Regions from separate parts of the Homo sapiens genome. Here all the other regions are linked to region 3. The links are contacts of gene promoters, found by promoter capture Hi-C in blood cells and fetal thymus (Javierre and others, 2016). All regions are on one chromosome and are shown on one strand. The core of a region is centred on a gene start or on the middle of the fragment in contact, and the rest is flanking DNA. Distances in the headings are between cores, read along the strand shown.

Evidence for each region. The method cuts DNA at HindIII sites, captures the fragments that hold promoters and counts their contacts. A CHiCAGO score of 5 or more calls a contact.
Region 1: the fragment with the promoter of STT3B here is called in contact with the fragment with the promoter of NEK10 in region 3 in 1 of 17 cell types (monocytes); the score reaches 5.3 in monocytes.
Region 2: a contact is called between the fragment with the promoter of TGFBR2 here and the fragment with the promoter of NEK10 in region 3, in 1 of 17 cell types (M0 macrophages). The highest score is 6.6, in M0 macrophages.

What each region holds. Positions count from the first base shown.
Region 1 is chr3:31,531,399-31,535,243 of GRCh38, forward strand. STT3B (STT3 oligosaccharyltransferase complex catalytic subunit B) reads left to right here and starts at 1,527. Exons shown (of 16, transcript NM_178862.3): 1 at 1,527-1,914. The coding sequence starts at 1,601. RefSeq lists silencers at 850-1,109, 1,420-1,649, 1,680-1,809, 1,890-2,039 and enhancers at 1,210-1,349, 2,200-2,259, 3,699-3,845. The HindIII fragment of the contact is 5,534 bases long and covers 1-3,845 here.
Region 2 is chr3:30,604,358-30,608,391 of GRCh38, forward strand. It overlaps TGFBR2 (transforming growth factor beta receptor 2), which reads left to right and starts at 2,244. Exons shown (of 7, transcript NM_003242.6): 1 at 2,244-2,620. The coding sequence starts at 2,527. LOC105377015 (translation initiation factor IF-2-like) reads right to left here and starts at 2,567. Exons shown (of 2, transcript XM_047449400.1): 1 at 1,789-2,567; 2 at 42-1,201. The coding sequence starts at 2,567. The coding sequence ends at 2,127. RefSeq lists a silencer at 2,318-2,417. The HindIII fragment of the contact is 4,009 bases long and covers 310-4,034 here.
Region 3 is chr3:27,366,502-27,370,901 of GRCh38, forward strand. NEK10 (NIMA related kinase 10) reads right to left here and starts at 2,882. Exons shown (of 36, transcript NM_001394966.1): 1 at 2,724-2,882. RefSeq lists an enhancer at 2,140-2,640. The HindIII fragment of the contact is 2,054 bases long and covers 1,036-3,089 here.

The sequences.
Region 1 (3,845 bases), core at 277-2,776, 4.2 Mb after region 3:
TTTAATATCCAGATGTTACTTACCTAATAAAATGTACAATTAGCTGTGAATTGACATGAACAAGTATTTACTGAGCACCGATTACGCCGAAAGCTCCGTACTTTCTATGGGGTTTATATAAGAGCAATTCGAGTCTCCCCACTACCTCACTTAGTTTAAGCTCATTTTGCCCTGAGTTTATCTGGTAGCACTTTATTTTAGCGGACAAGGAGGGAAGTGGGGAAAGGAAAGGAATTATAAAAATACAAGGTAGACGTGCACAAGAACCTTCGTTCTATTATTATTTAGTAAAGTGAGAACTGGAAACAGCTTAACGTCCAGGGTAAGTTAGTTTCACTCACTCGACGGAATGTATGCAGCCGTTAATGTATTTCTGCATTTTCCCATATTTCCAGTGAACATACAGTACTTTCGCAATTCGGAGTACAAACGAAAAAGGGCGAGAGAAGGTCGCATTTTGCCTGCCGGAGCTAGGGGCGCGCTTGCCGGTTCCAACGAGTTTTCGGTGTCGGAAAACTTGTCTTTGCTCACATTCTCGGATTCCCGCGGCCGCAGAAGCCGGAGGCGGGACGTGAAGGGCAATGAGCAAGGTAGGCTGTGTCACTGCCGCCGCGGGCTCACTCGCAGCGCCAGCCGAGGAGCGCCACGGGCTGCTGAACCCCTCGGCCCGACCCACGCGCCGAGGGCTAGGATAATGCGCCTGCGCGGCCGTCACGTGGTGAGGGCTCCGCGCAAAGCGGGTTAAAAGTCACGACCGCGGAGAGCCCGCGAGCGTCCTGCTGGTCGGTGCGGCGCTTTCCGCGTCCTTTAAGACGAGTTTGACCGAGGCCGCTCCGCAGTTCCCGCCCCTCGGCCCAGCTCAGCTCCATGAACCTAGCGGAGCCGCCTAGTACCCTTTCTCGCCGACCGCACAGGCGCGCGAAACCGCGTCTTTCAACTGACAATGAAGCCGTAGCCGCGCAGCTCGGCCACTCCGGGCGAATCGGCGCGAGGCCGGGATGGTGGGGGGGAGGGGGAGACGGTTGGGTCAAGCTCCGCCCCAGCTCGCGCCCCTATTGGTGGGCGCAGCGGTTCTGGGCCCGCCCCCTAACGGACCTGTCGCTTTGTGACAGGCGGAGGGGCCAGTTCCTGTCGGGCCGGAGGCGGAGTCAGAGGTTGCTTGAGCTCCGCCCGGACTCCAGGGGGCTCCTCCCCCTGCTCCTTTCGGCTGGGCGGGCGGCGGGCTAGAGAGGGAATGTCATTGCTTCTCAGAGCCGTGGTGCCGCCTCCGTCTGCTGCTTCTTTCCTGGCGCCCTCGTCCCGTCGGCTTTCGCCGCCGCCGCCGCAGCTGCACTGGGGATACGGATGGCTAGTGGGGCGCCGGGGCCATCTGGGTTGAGAGAGCGGCGATTGCGGCCGCTGCTGAGGCGGAGACTCCCCGCCGCCGCTTCCTCCACCCCCAGTCCGCCGGCCTCGCGGCGCTGAGGGCGGGAGCGCGCAGAGCTCTTCCCTCCTCCTTTTTCTTCCTCCTCCTCCTCCTCCTCCGGGTCCCCGCCCAGCACCCCTCGCACCAGGCGGCGGCGGCGGAGGAGGAGAGCTAGACCCGCCGCCGGGGCACAACATGGCGGAGCCCTCGGCCCCGGAGAGCAAGCACAAGTCGTCCCTCAACTCGTCCCCGTGGAGTGGCCTCATGGCCCTGGGAAACAGCCGGCACGGCCACCACGGGCCCGGGGCCCAGTGCGCGCACAAGGCGGCGGGCGGCGCGGCGCCGCCGAAGCCGGCCCCGGCGGGGCTGTCCGGGGGGCTGTCGCAGCCGGCTGGGTGGCAGTCGCTTCTCTCCTTCACCATCCTCTTCCTGGCCTGGCTTGCCGGCTTCAGCTCGCGCCTCTTCGCCGTCATCCGCTTCGAAAGCATCATCCACGAGTTCGACCCGTGGTAAGTGCCTCGCCGCCCCTCCCCCGCCCGTGGCCCGCGGGGAACCGGGACCCGCTCCTCCGCCCGCCGCAGCTCTCCTCGACTTGGCCCCGCGCCGCCGCGGAGCCCCGCTCGCGTCCTGGCTGAGGCCGGCGCGGATCCCGGAGCTCCGGGCGCGCCCCCTGCCCGTGGGCGAAGTTTGCCCCGTGCAGCCTGAGGCGGGGCGTCGGGGTCCAGGAGCGAAACCTTGATTCTCGGCCGGGCTAGTGTGAAGACTGCCAGGAGTGTGGATGCAGCCGCCGGGAGTGTGGGTGCAGCCGCCGGGAGTGTGGGTGCAGTCCCTCGCAGCCCGCTTTGGTCGCTGAGTCCGGACCCGCCACGCCAGGAGGCGGCAGGTAGCTCCTCCGCGGACTGTCGGTCGATTCCCCGCCCTCCTCGCCCGCTGCTTTCGCGTTCTTTCATATTTGCGGGCGCGTTTTTGCTAGTTCAGACGGAATCGGCCAGGGGGGCTGCCCTGTTGCCGCTGGAGGTGGGTCCAGATGTGCCGGAACCCCGGCTGCTCACCCTTGCAGTTTTACGCTTTTACTGTTTCTTTTTATGCTCTCATGATACGAGAAGGGAAAAGGAGAGTGAATGGCGTGTTGGAGGGAAGGAAATAATACCCCTGAAAGTGATCTGAAAGCTAGCTACTCTTATTTATTTATCATTAGGTATTTTAAAGAGTGGCTTTTTTTCAGAGCTCTTAAGTGCACTCAGCACCTTACTGTTTCACTATCGTCTTGGGTTGCTTTTTAGAACAAGATCCTTACCCTGTTAGCCACTGTCACCCTTAGTGTGTTATGCACAGTATCTGAAAGCATTGCATTAGTTCCTTTATTGGTCTGCAGGAAGGTTTGTGGATAAGAGCAAACAGTACCACGGTGATGGGAGTCCTAGATTGTAATACCGAAGTTGCACATGGTGTAAGGGACTGACCTGAATGTTTTAGGAAATTACCCCACTCTTAACAACACTAGCTAACTTAGACACTACATTGGTCTGTGAATTATCTAGATGGAAAGATTGCTTTAACTTTTTTTTCGCAACTTGCCCAACCCGAGTTAGGATTTTTCCCCCTGAGTTAGGATTTTCCCCTCTGAGAGTATGCCTTTTAAACTAGTGTTATCTTATTGACCTGTCAACCTTGAGTTAATCTTACTTCCTCACAGTTAGACCTAATTAAATTTCAGGATATTTGTTTCATCATTTGAGATTCAAAGAGAGAGAGTCTTTTTTGAGAGTTACTAACTATATAGATAATAAGTGTTCGGGTGGAGGGGGGCAGTAACTTACCTGTATAGTAATATACCAGATTTAAGTTCTGCATTATGGAGAGAAAAATTGGTACTGCAACATCTATTGAACACCAGAGGGGCCCACTCATGGACAATTCAATTTAGATCAGTTAATTACTGTGACAGTCTTCCATGAAATGTTTTCATTCCATTTTAGAAGTTTTGATTTTGTTTTCTAACACTAGTTTTTTTAAAAAATAACCTTTTTGTTAACGTGCAATCACAGAAGAAAATATGTTAGTGTAGACTATTTATGAGCCTAAGAATACCTGTGAAGGCTTATTGACACAATATTATTAGGTGGTCTTGTTTTGAAATACTTAAGCAAGTTAGATAAAAATGAAATTGGAACCAGAAAATGAAAACTAGTATTTACTGGACAATATGAAAAGAGAAAGTTCTCTTTTCAGATTAAAATAGCAGAAATGCATGGTTGACCAAACATTTCAGGTAACAAAATTGTGAATATTTCCATAGTAACATTTTTACAAATGGAAGGCTAACGACTGTTTAATAGTAACTCTGGGGCTGAAATTAAAGATTGCAGAAAAATTCACTACTGAATGATGAGATTTTGGTCATTTTTCCTTAAGATTAGAAATCTGCATCAAGTCAGCC
Region 2 (4,034 bases), core at 994-3,493, 3.2 Mb after region 3:
TTTCTCCAGAGTTATGAAGCAACTAGAACAATCAAATACAATTTTCTTCTAAATCTTTATTGCCTGATTCATTCATTCATCCAACAAATATTTATTAAACATCGATTATGTGTTTGATGCTTAGGGACACAATAGTAAGTGGAGGGAAAGATACATAATACCTGCCCTCAAGAAATTTGGAGTTGAGTGGAGGATAGAAATATAAATTAAAGAATGACACAAATAATTATAAAGTTACAGCTGTTAAAAGAAAAGCATATGGTGCCAAGAGAACGTGTAATACAAGATCTACTCATGGAGGTGAGGGAAAGCTTGCCCATCAAAGAAGTTATGATTCAATCCACGAAGACCAGGAGTTGGCTGGGTGAAGAAAAAAAGGTCAGAGGAAGGAAGTCCACACTGGGGAAGGCTCTAAGCATAAAGGGTAGGAGGATTACAGAGGCATATTCACGAAATTTGGAGAAGGCTTTCAGTAAGCAAGGAGAAGCCAAATGAAAGTTTACGGGAGAGTTGGAGGCTTGAAGACACGTTCAAGGATCTGGTTTTTATCTTCTCTTTATCTCAAGAGCAGTGGGAAGCCATTAAATGATTTTAATCAGAGGGTTGGTATAACTAGTTTTGTATTTTGAAAAGCTGAATTCAGCTCTCGTTTGAGAAACTGAGTGAAAGAGCCCAGAACGGCCGTGGCTGAGGGTGACTCGTGGGAGACTCCTACACAAGCCATGGCAGTGGCATGGGCTGGTGGCAGAAGAGGGAATAGGGAGAAGATTTGGAACTCAATCTTCCTCCATTGACAAAGTCACTCCAGCTTTGGCAAGGCAATTAATTGGTGGGAAAGAAGATGCCTAGCCCTCCTGATTTCACTGCACTTTCTGCATCTTCAACATGAGTACTGGGAAGTGGCAAAACATCCAGAGGCAGCTTGGGTGCTAGGTGGAGCATGAGTTAAAATTCCAGGATGAAGCAAATGAACACTTAGAATGACAGGAAAGATTTGGGAGTTGGGTTTGGGGGAGGGCTATTTACCTTTATTCCCTGGAGACCCTGGCACAAACCCTTGCCTCTGCAATCTTCCTCTCAGGTAAAGGAATTCATTAAATGAATTGCTAGAAGATCTACTGACCAGAGGGCTGTACAGAATCATATCTTTGAGAGTGGGAAGTAGGTTGATCACATAGTTTATTATCCAATCAGGACATATCTGAAAGAGAAAGGGGGTTCTATTAATATTTAAACTACAAAACATGTACACCAGGAATGTCTTGGGCAAATCTGGTTGCCCTAGCAAGAAAGGAAATTTGAAAGTTTATACTGTTCTGCTCCCATGTTACCCCGTTTGCACATGAGAGGGTAAGTATTCTCTTTCTTCACCTGCATTAAGGGAATAAAAGCACAAGCATTCAGGTGACTCCCAACCCACTTTTAATTTTACAGTTTCTGCTATACTCTATACATTCTGAAAATTACATTTCCCACCACTATCACTTCGTGATAGGTGATCATTTACAATTACTCACTGACTCAGTCCCGGGAAGAGGCGGTGCAAAATGGGACGCTCTATCCAGGTGCTCATTAGAAATGCAGAATCTCTGCCTGCCTCCTAGACCTACTGAATTAGAATCTGCATTTTTAAATAAGATTTCCAGGTGATCAATATGTACATTAAAACTTGAGAAAAACCTCTAGACTTCGACCTAAAGAAAAACATTTTACAACTTGACAGTGTATGCACATACATACATGCATATAGACACAACTGAAGCACAAATTTAATGAAGTAGAATTTACCGTTACTATTTTATTTGGGAAAGAAATGTGCTCGCGACTCAATAGATTGGAGTATTCACTCCTGGATCTCAACTTGCAATTTGAAAACGCATCTCTAAAGCACCTAGGAGCAATCTGAAGAAAGCTGAGGGGAGGCGGCAGATGTTCTGATCTACTAGGGAAAACGTGGACGTTTTCTGTTGTTACTTTGTGAACTGTGTGCACTTAGTCATTCTTGAGTAAATACTTGGAGCGAGGAACTCCTGAGTGGTGTGGGAGGGCGGTGAGGGGCAGCTGAAAGTCGGCCAAAGCTCTCGGAGGGGCTGGTCTAGGAAACATGATTGGCAGCTACGAGAGAGCTAGGGGCTGGACGTCGAGGAGAGGGAGAAGGCTCTCGGGCGGAGAGAGGTCCTGCCCAGCTGTTGGCGAGGAGTTTCCTGTTTCCCCCGCAGCGCTGAGTTGAAGTTGAGTGAGTCACTCGCGCGCACGGAGCGACGACACCCCCGCGCGTGCACCCGCTCGGGACAGGAGCCGGACTCCTGTGCAGCTTCCCTCGGCCGCCGGGGGCCTCCCCGCGCCTCGCCGGCCTCCAGGCCCCCTCCTGGCTGGCGAGCGGGCGCCACATCTGGCCCGCACATCTGCGCTGCCGGCCCGGCGCGGGGTCCGGAGAGGGCGCGGCGCGGAGGCGCAGCCAGGGGTCCGGGAAGGCGCCGTCCGCTGCGCTGGGGGCTCGGTCTATGACGAGCAGCGGGGTCTGCCATGGGTCGGGGGCTGCTCAGGGGCCTGTGGCCGCTGCACATCGTCCTGTGGACGCGTATCGCCAGCACGATCCCACCGCACGTTCAGAAGTCGGGTGAGTGGTCCCCAGCCCGGGCTCGGCGGGGCGCCGGGGGTCTTCCTGGGGTCCCCGCCTCTCCGCTGCGCTTGACAGTCGGGCCCGGCAACCCGGCCCCCGGGCGGAAACGAGGAAAGTTTCCCCCGCGACACTCACGCAGCCCGACTCCCGTAGCTGCAGGGATTGTGAGTTTTTCTTGAAAAAGAGAAGGAAAGTTCAGTTGCAAGGGGCGCGGGGCACGTTTGGTCCCCTTTGTGCGAGCAGGAAAGGCGTTGTGTTGGCCGCGTTCGAGGCGAGCCCCCACCCCCGGAAAGGGAAGTTTGAGAAGTTGGTTATCTGAAGGCGGCCGGGGAGCAGCGGCCCGGAGCGGCAGCCTGAGCTGCCAAAGCAGCCAGCGCACCTGGGCCACTCCGCCCATGGCGATGCCGCGTGCCCACCCAGCTCTTTCTGAGCCACCCGTTCAAAAGGCCAGCTCCTCAGTCCTTAGCTCCTGGAGACGGCCACGCTTTCCCTCAGGCCGGCTTCTTGGCCCGGAGTTTTTGGAAACAAGTTTCAAGAAAATAATCGATTTCCAAAAGAAAGTTAGCTGGCTCCACTGACGCCTTGGCATGGATGGATAGGGAGTGGAGATGCTCAGGTGAAACCGAGAATCCCTCACTGAATGCCTACTGGGTGCTAGAGGCTGTAGATTTTGCCTGGAACAAGATAGTCCTGTCTTCAGGGAGTTGATGGTTCTATGCAATTATCGTTTGTTGGAAACCGAAGGGTTAAAATCCTAACTAGGCTACCCACCTGATCGCTGTCTCTGAAGGTTTTTAAGGAAAAAATAAAAATAAAAAAATATATATATATATTATATATATATAAATATATATATAATTATATATATAAATATATATAATATTAATATATATATGCATGCAGGAATGGGGGTTCTTAACTATTTGTTATGGAAAGTGTAAAACCTCTGAGACTTCAAAAGTTAGATTTTTTTTTTTTGGAGACGGAGTCTCGCTCTGTCACCAGGCTGGAGTGCAGTGGCGCAATCTCGGCTCACTGCAACTTTGCCTCTGGGTTCAAGCGATTCTCCTGCCTTAGCCTCCCGAGTAGCTGGGATTACAGGCGCGTGCCACCACGCCCAGCTAATTTTTGTATTTTTAGTAGAGACGGGGTTTCACCATATTGGCCAGGGTGGTCTCGATCTCTTGACCTCGTGATCCGCCCACCTTGGCCTCCCAAAGTGCTGGGATTACAGGCGTGAGCCACCGCGCCCGGCCAAAAGTTAGACTTTTTGCAGCTATGATCCAAATAACAGTATCTGCAGCTGTGGTCTGGGTAACCGAGTATTTGGGCAAGTCATAGAGCTTTTTCTGGGCCTTAGTTTCCTCATCTGTAAAATGGCCAGCTTGAATCTGGGTAATTTTACATCATC
Region 3 (4,400 bases), core at 1,632-4,131:
GTGACAGGCAGAGTAACATTCCAGGCCCTTCTTCCACCTCCTGAAGACTTTATTTGTTGCACTGTCTTTTGGCTCACCCTCACTGGGCATGGAGCCCCAAACCCATTAGATGGTCAATAAATACTCACTGAATGATTGAGACTCAGAGCTGTATCAGAGCTGTCGCCAAACACAAAAGTTTGTGATCAAGTACTATAACAACAGGATGGTGTCCTAGAAATTGCACTTGACTGAATCAAAAGATTGATTTTTACCTTTTGTAAACTCACCATGACAATTTCACAGCTCTAGACTTCAGTGTGTTCATTTTTTTTTTTTTTTTTTTTTGAGACGGAGTTTCACTCTTGTTGCCCAGGCTGTAGAGCAGTGGCGTGATCTTGGCTCACTGCAACCTCCGCCTCCCGGTTCAAGGGATTCTCCTGCTTCAGCCTCCCAAGTAGCGGGGATTACAGGTGTGCGCCACCATGCCCAGCTAATTTTGTATTTTTTGTAGAGATGGGGTTTCACCATGTGGGCCAGGCTGATCTTGAACTCCTGACCTCAGGTGATCCACCCACCTCATCGTCCCAAAGTGCTGGGATTCACGGCATGAGCCACCATGCCCAGCCCAGTGTGTTCATTTTTAAACGTGAAAGCTTACTATATATAAAGCACTATACCTTTGGTATGAATTATGTACATATAATCTTTAAAAGAATCCTATGAGCTAGGTGCTATTATACCCCCATTGTGCAGATAAAGAATCTGACTAGAGGCTAAGTAATTTGTTATGTGTTACACAATTAAAATGCTAGAGCTAGGATTCAAACCCATGTATGTATGACTCCAAAGCTTAGCTCTTGCACACCATGCTGTACTGTCTCTCTCTTTACCATTTTAAGCTTATGTCATATAATAACAGCTACCGTGATAATGATTATGGCTTGAACTATAAACTGTGAATTGAAGTAGTTTCCAATTACTAAGGGTCTTGAAATTAAAGTAAAACCTGTACCTTTTATAACATTTTTTCAATATTTACCTTTTATAAGCAAAAGCTTCATTGGCCATTTCTGACTTTTCTGGAAGAAATAAAGATACCATGGCAAACAGTAACTTCTCATTTTAGAGATTCAGTCAGTTAACAAGTATTTGTTGAACACCTGTTACGATGTCTTGCACTGGGCTAAATGCTGGATATATATAACAATAGTGACTGAGACAAAGATGGTCTCTGCCGTCACAGAGGCAGTCCAGAGAAAGAAACAGTAATCAAGCAACATACAGAAAATGATTGGGGAGTGAGAGCAGGAGTGTGGGGGTGCAAAAAGGAAAGTCCATTCCAGGCAGTGTGAGCAACAGGTGAGATAATTACACACAGGAGAGAATGTGACATATTCTGGGAACAATCAAGATGGAACTGCTGATAGAAGGCCTAACTAAAGATTGGATTAGGGTAATGGGGAATCATTGCAGGACTTTAAGTAGGGAAGGGAAATGCCCTTATGTGCGTTTTAAAAAGATCAGTTTAGCCGGGCACGGTGGCTCACGCCTGTAATTCCAGCACTTTGGGAGGCTGAGGCGGGTGGATCACCTGAGATCAGGAGTTCGAGACCAGCCTGACCAACATGGTGAAACCCCTTCTCTACTAAAAATACAAAAATTAGCCAGGCGTAGTGGCTCGCGCCTGTAATCCCAGCTCTCTGGAGGCTGAGGCATGAGAATTGGTTGAACCCGGAAGGCGGAGGCTGCAGTGAGCTGAGATCGCTCCACTGCACTCCAGCCTGGCAGCACAGCAAGACTCCTTCTAAAAAAGGAGTCTTTTTTAGAAGGACTCCATATATATATATATACACATATATATATATCAGTTCAACAATGGTGGGGAAAAAAGTGGATTGGATAGATAGGGCCAGACTAGAATCGGAGAAGCCAGATGGGTGTTGAATTTAACCAACCGATGGTGGAAATTGAGACAGTAAAAATAGAGATGGTAATGTGGGAATTGATTCAACACCTATTAAGAAGGGATAGTCTTGATAATTGATAGAGATGCAGAGGAAGCAGCAGTAAGTGTCATGGATGTCGTCTAGAGTGTAGTTTTTGAAAGCTGAATGGATAGTGATGCCCAAAATAGGGAATCCAAGAGCAGCAGCAGACATGGGGAAGATGGCGTTCAGGGTTGCACATGTGTGGCGTTAACTTGGCAGCTGGATTTTGGGGTCTGACAGTTAGTAGAGCAGGCTAGGTTCCAGTTGGAGACTTTCTAATCATCGTCAGATAGATGGTGCCTGAGGCGAGGAAGTGGAAGGGCTCACCGAAGTAGGGCAGAAAAGCAGAGGGGCAAAGTCAAAGCAGCATCCTGTAAGGAGAAGGCAGAAAAGCGACGCTCATAGAGATGAAGAATGAACCTCCAGAGGCGTCGGAGCAGATTGGAAGAGACACATTCAGGCTCCATTTAACCAGAATAATTCCGTTATCAAAATGGAAGCGCCAAGAAGCATCGTTGATGGCGCTTTCCCACCATCCATCCGTCCAACACAAACCCACCTGCTTTGAAAAGACTGCCTCACGCAGTGACTCACTTACCCACCACAGCCGCATTCTCTACCTCTGCCTCTTGTCTAGTGAAGCTGGCTCCCGAGGCTTCGGGGCCGCTCCACAGGGACCTGAGGACGTCTCCCCGGAGACCCTGACTCAAGCTGCTCGCCGGCACAGCCGAGCACCGGCTCCCGCCTACTCACCGCGCGGGAGGGACGGTCCCTCCTTCAGGCCAATCTCCTTATCATTGTCCCTGCTGCTGTCACCTGCTGCTGCAGACCGGGGGTCCCGTCCAGTCTCAGCCCGTCCCGTCCTCCCCCCAGCCTATTCCCGGTCCCCTCAACCTCAGGGACACCGCGGCCAGCTGCACCGTTGGTTTTCCAATCAAATCCTCCTCCAGGCCACCAACCAGCGCTGGCCAGGCCAATGCCGACAATTCTTCCTCCGCCACCTGGGGCGCCTCAGCCAATCGGGAGCAGCCATGCTGCGCAGTGCAGAACGCCATAGCGACGGATGACGCCTGCCGGGGAATCGCCGTAGCAACCAGAGACGCGCTAGATCCACCACCAAGCTTGCAAGCAGAAGAGGCAGCAAGTGATGCTGAAGGCTGTGCTGCAGCCACTTCACCGGAACCTAGAGCTACCTGTGAACAGGTCTCCTACACGTTGAAGATTTTTCTGGATTTAGGGTGTCTAACCTTTGATGGGAAAGGGCAGCTTCATCTTGGAGTGTTTACTTTCAAGAATTGCTATGGGCTAAAAATCAATTCTCTTTAAAAGCAAAGATTTAATCTGATAAGGAATCAATGCAGCATGCTAAATACCTTTCATATGGCATGAAAACGTCTTCAGTTACTCAAGCCACAGGCAATGAGAATAAGGTGCCACAGCACCGTATTTTTCACAAAAAGAGTGACCTGGGATTCAAGAAACCTGTATAGTATAACTATCGCCAGTTCGTTTTGTGGCTTTGGGCAAGTCACTTCACCTTTTGTGAAAGTCTGGAGCTTCTTTAAAATTTCTGAACTGCATTAGATAACGCTTTAAAAATATACCTGACATTCTGTAACTTTAAATAAATGAAAAATGCCAATCTATTAAGTGCTTAATTTTGTGCCGGGCACGATTTCAAATTCTTTCCTTATTTCACTTAGTTATAAAATGGAGGCACAAGAAGTTTCCTAAGTAGTCCAGTATGGCAGAGCTAGTGATGGAGTCAGGGTAAAACCTACTTCGAGTCTGGTCTTAACCACGATGATGCTCCTTCGACGATTTCTTCGAGTACTGGGCCCTGTTCAACCTCATCTTGGTATCACTAAACGCTCGTGTGTGTGTCTGGTGGTTACATCTTCCCAAACTGGATTTTAAATGAATACAGTGAACCCTAACGTTTTTCTGGTGTGGATAGTAAGTAGGCCCATTGGATTAACAATACTTAAGCTTGGGTAATTGAAAGCATTTTTTAAAATGAAGACGGTCCTATTTTGGAAATGCAGAAAGGCGAGATGAAAGCCAAACTCTGGTGAGTATAGCAGAACTAATTAAACTTCAGAGATCTAAAACAATCAGGATTAATGTTACCAATAAAACAAAACAAGGTGACGGGGCAGGAAGACCGATGCTGAGTAGAAAAAGTATTCTGTACATACATTCTAAATGTTAAGCAGTCGGCCTGGCTTGGTGGCTCACACCTGTAATCCTAGCACTTTGGGAGGCCGAGGCAGGAGGACCACTTGAGGTTAGGAGTTCGAGACCAGCCTGGCCATCATGGCCAAACCCTGTTTCTACTAAAAACAGAAAAATCAGCCGGGCATGGTGGCACATGCTAGTCCCTACTACTCAGGAGGCTGAGGCACAAGAATTACTTGAACCCAGGAAGCA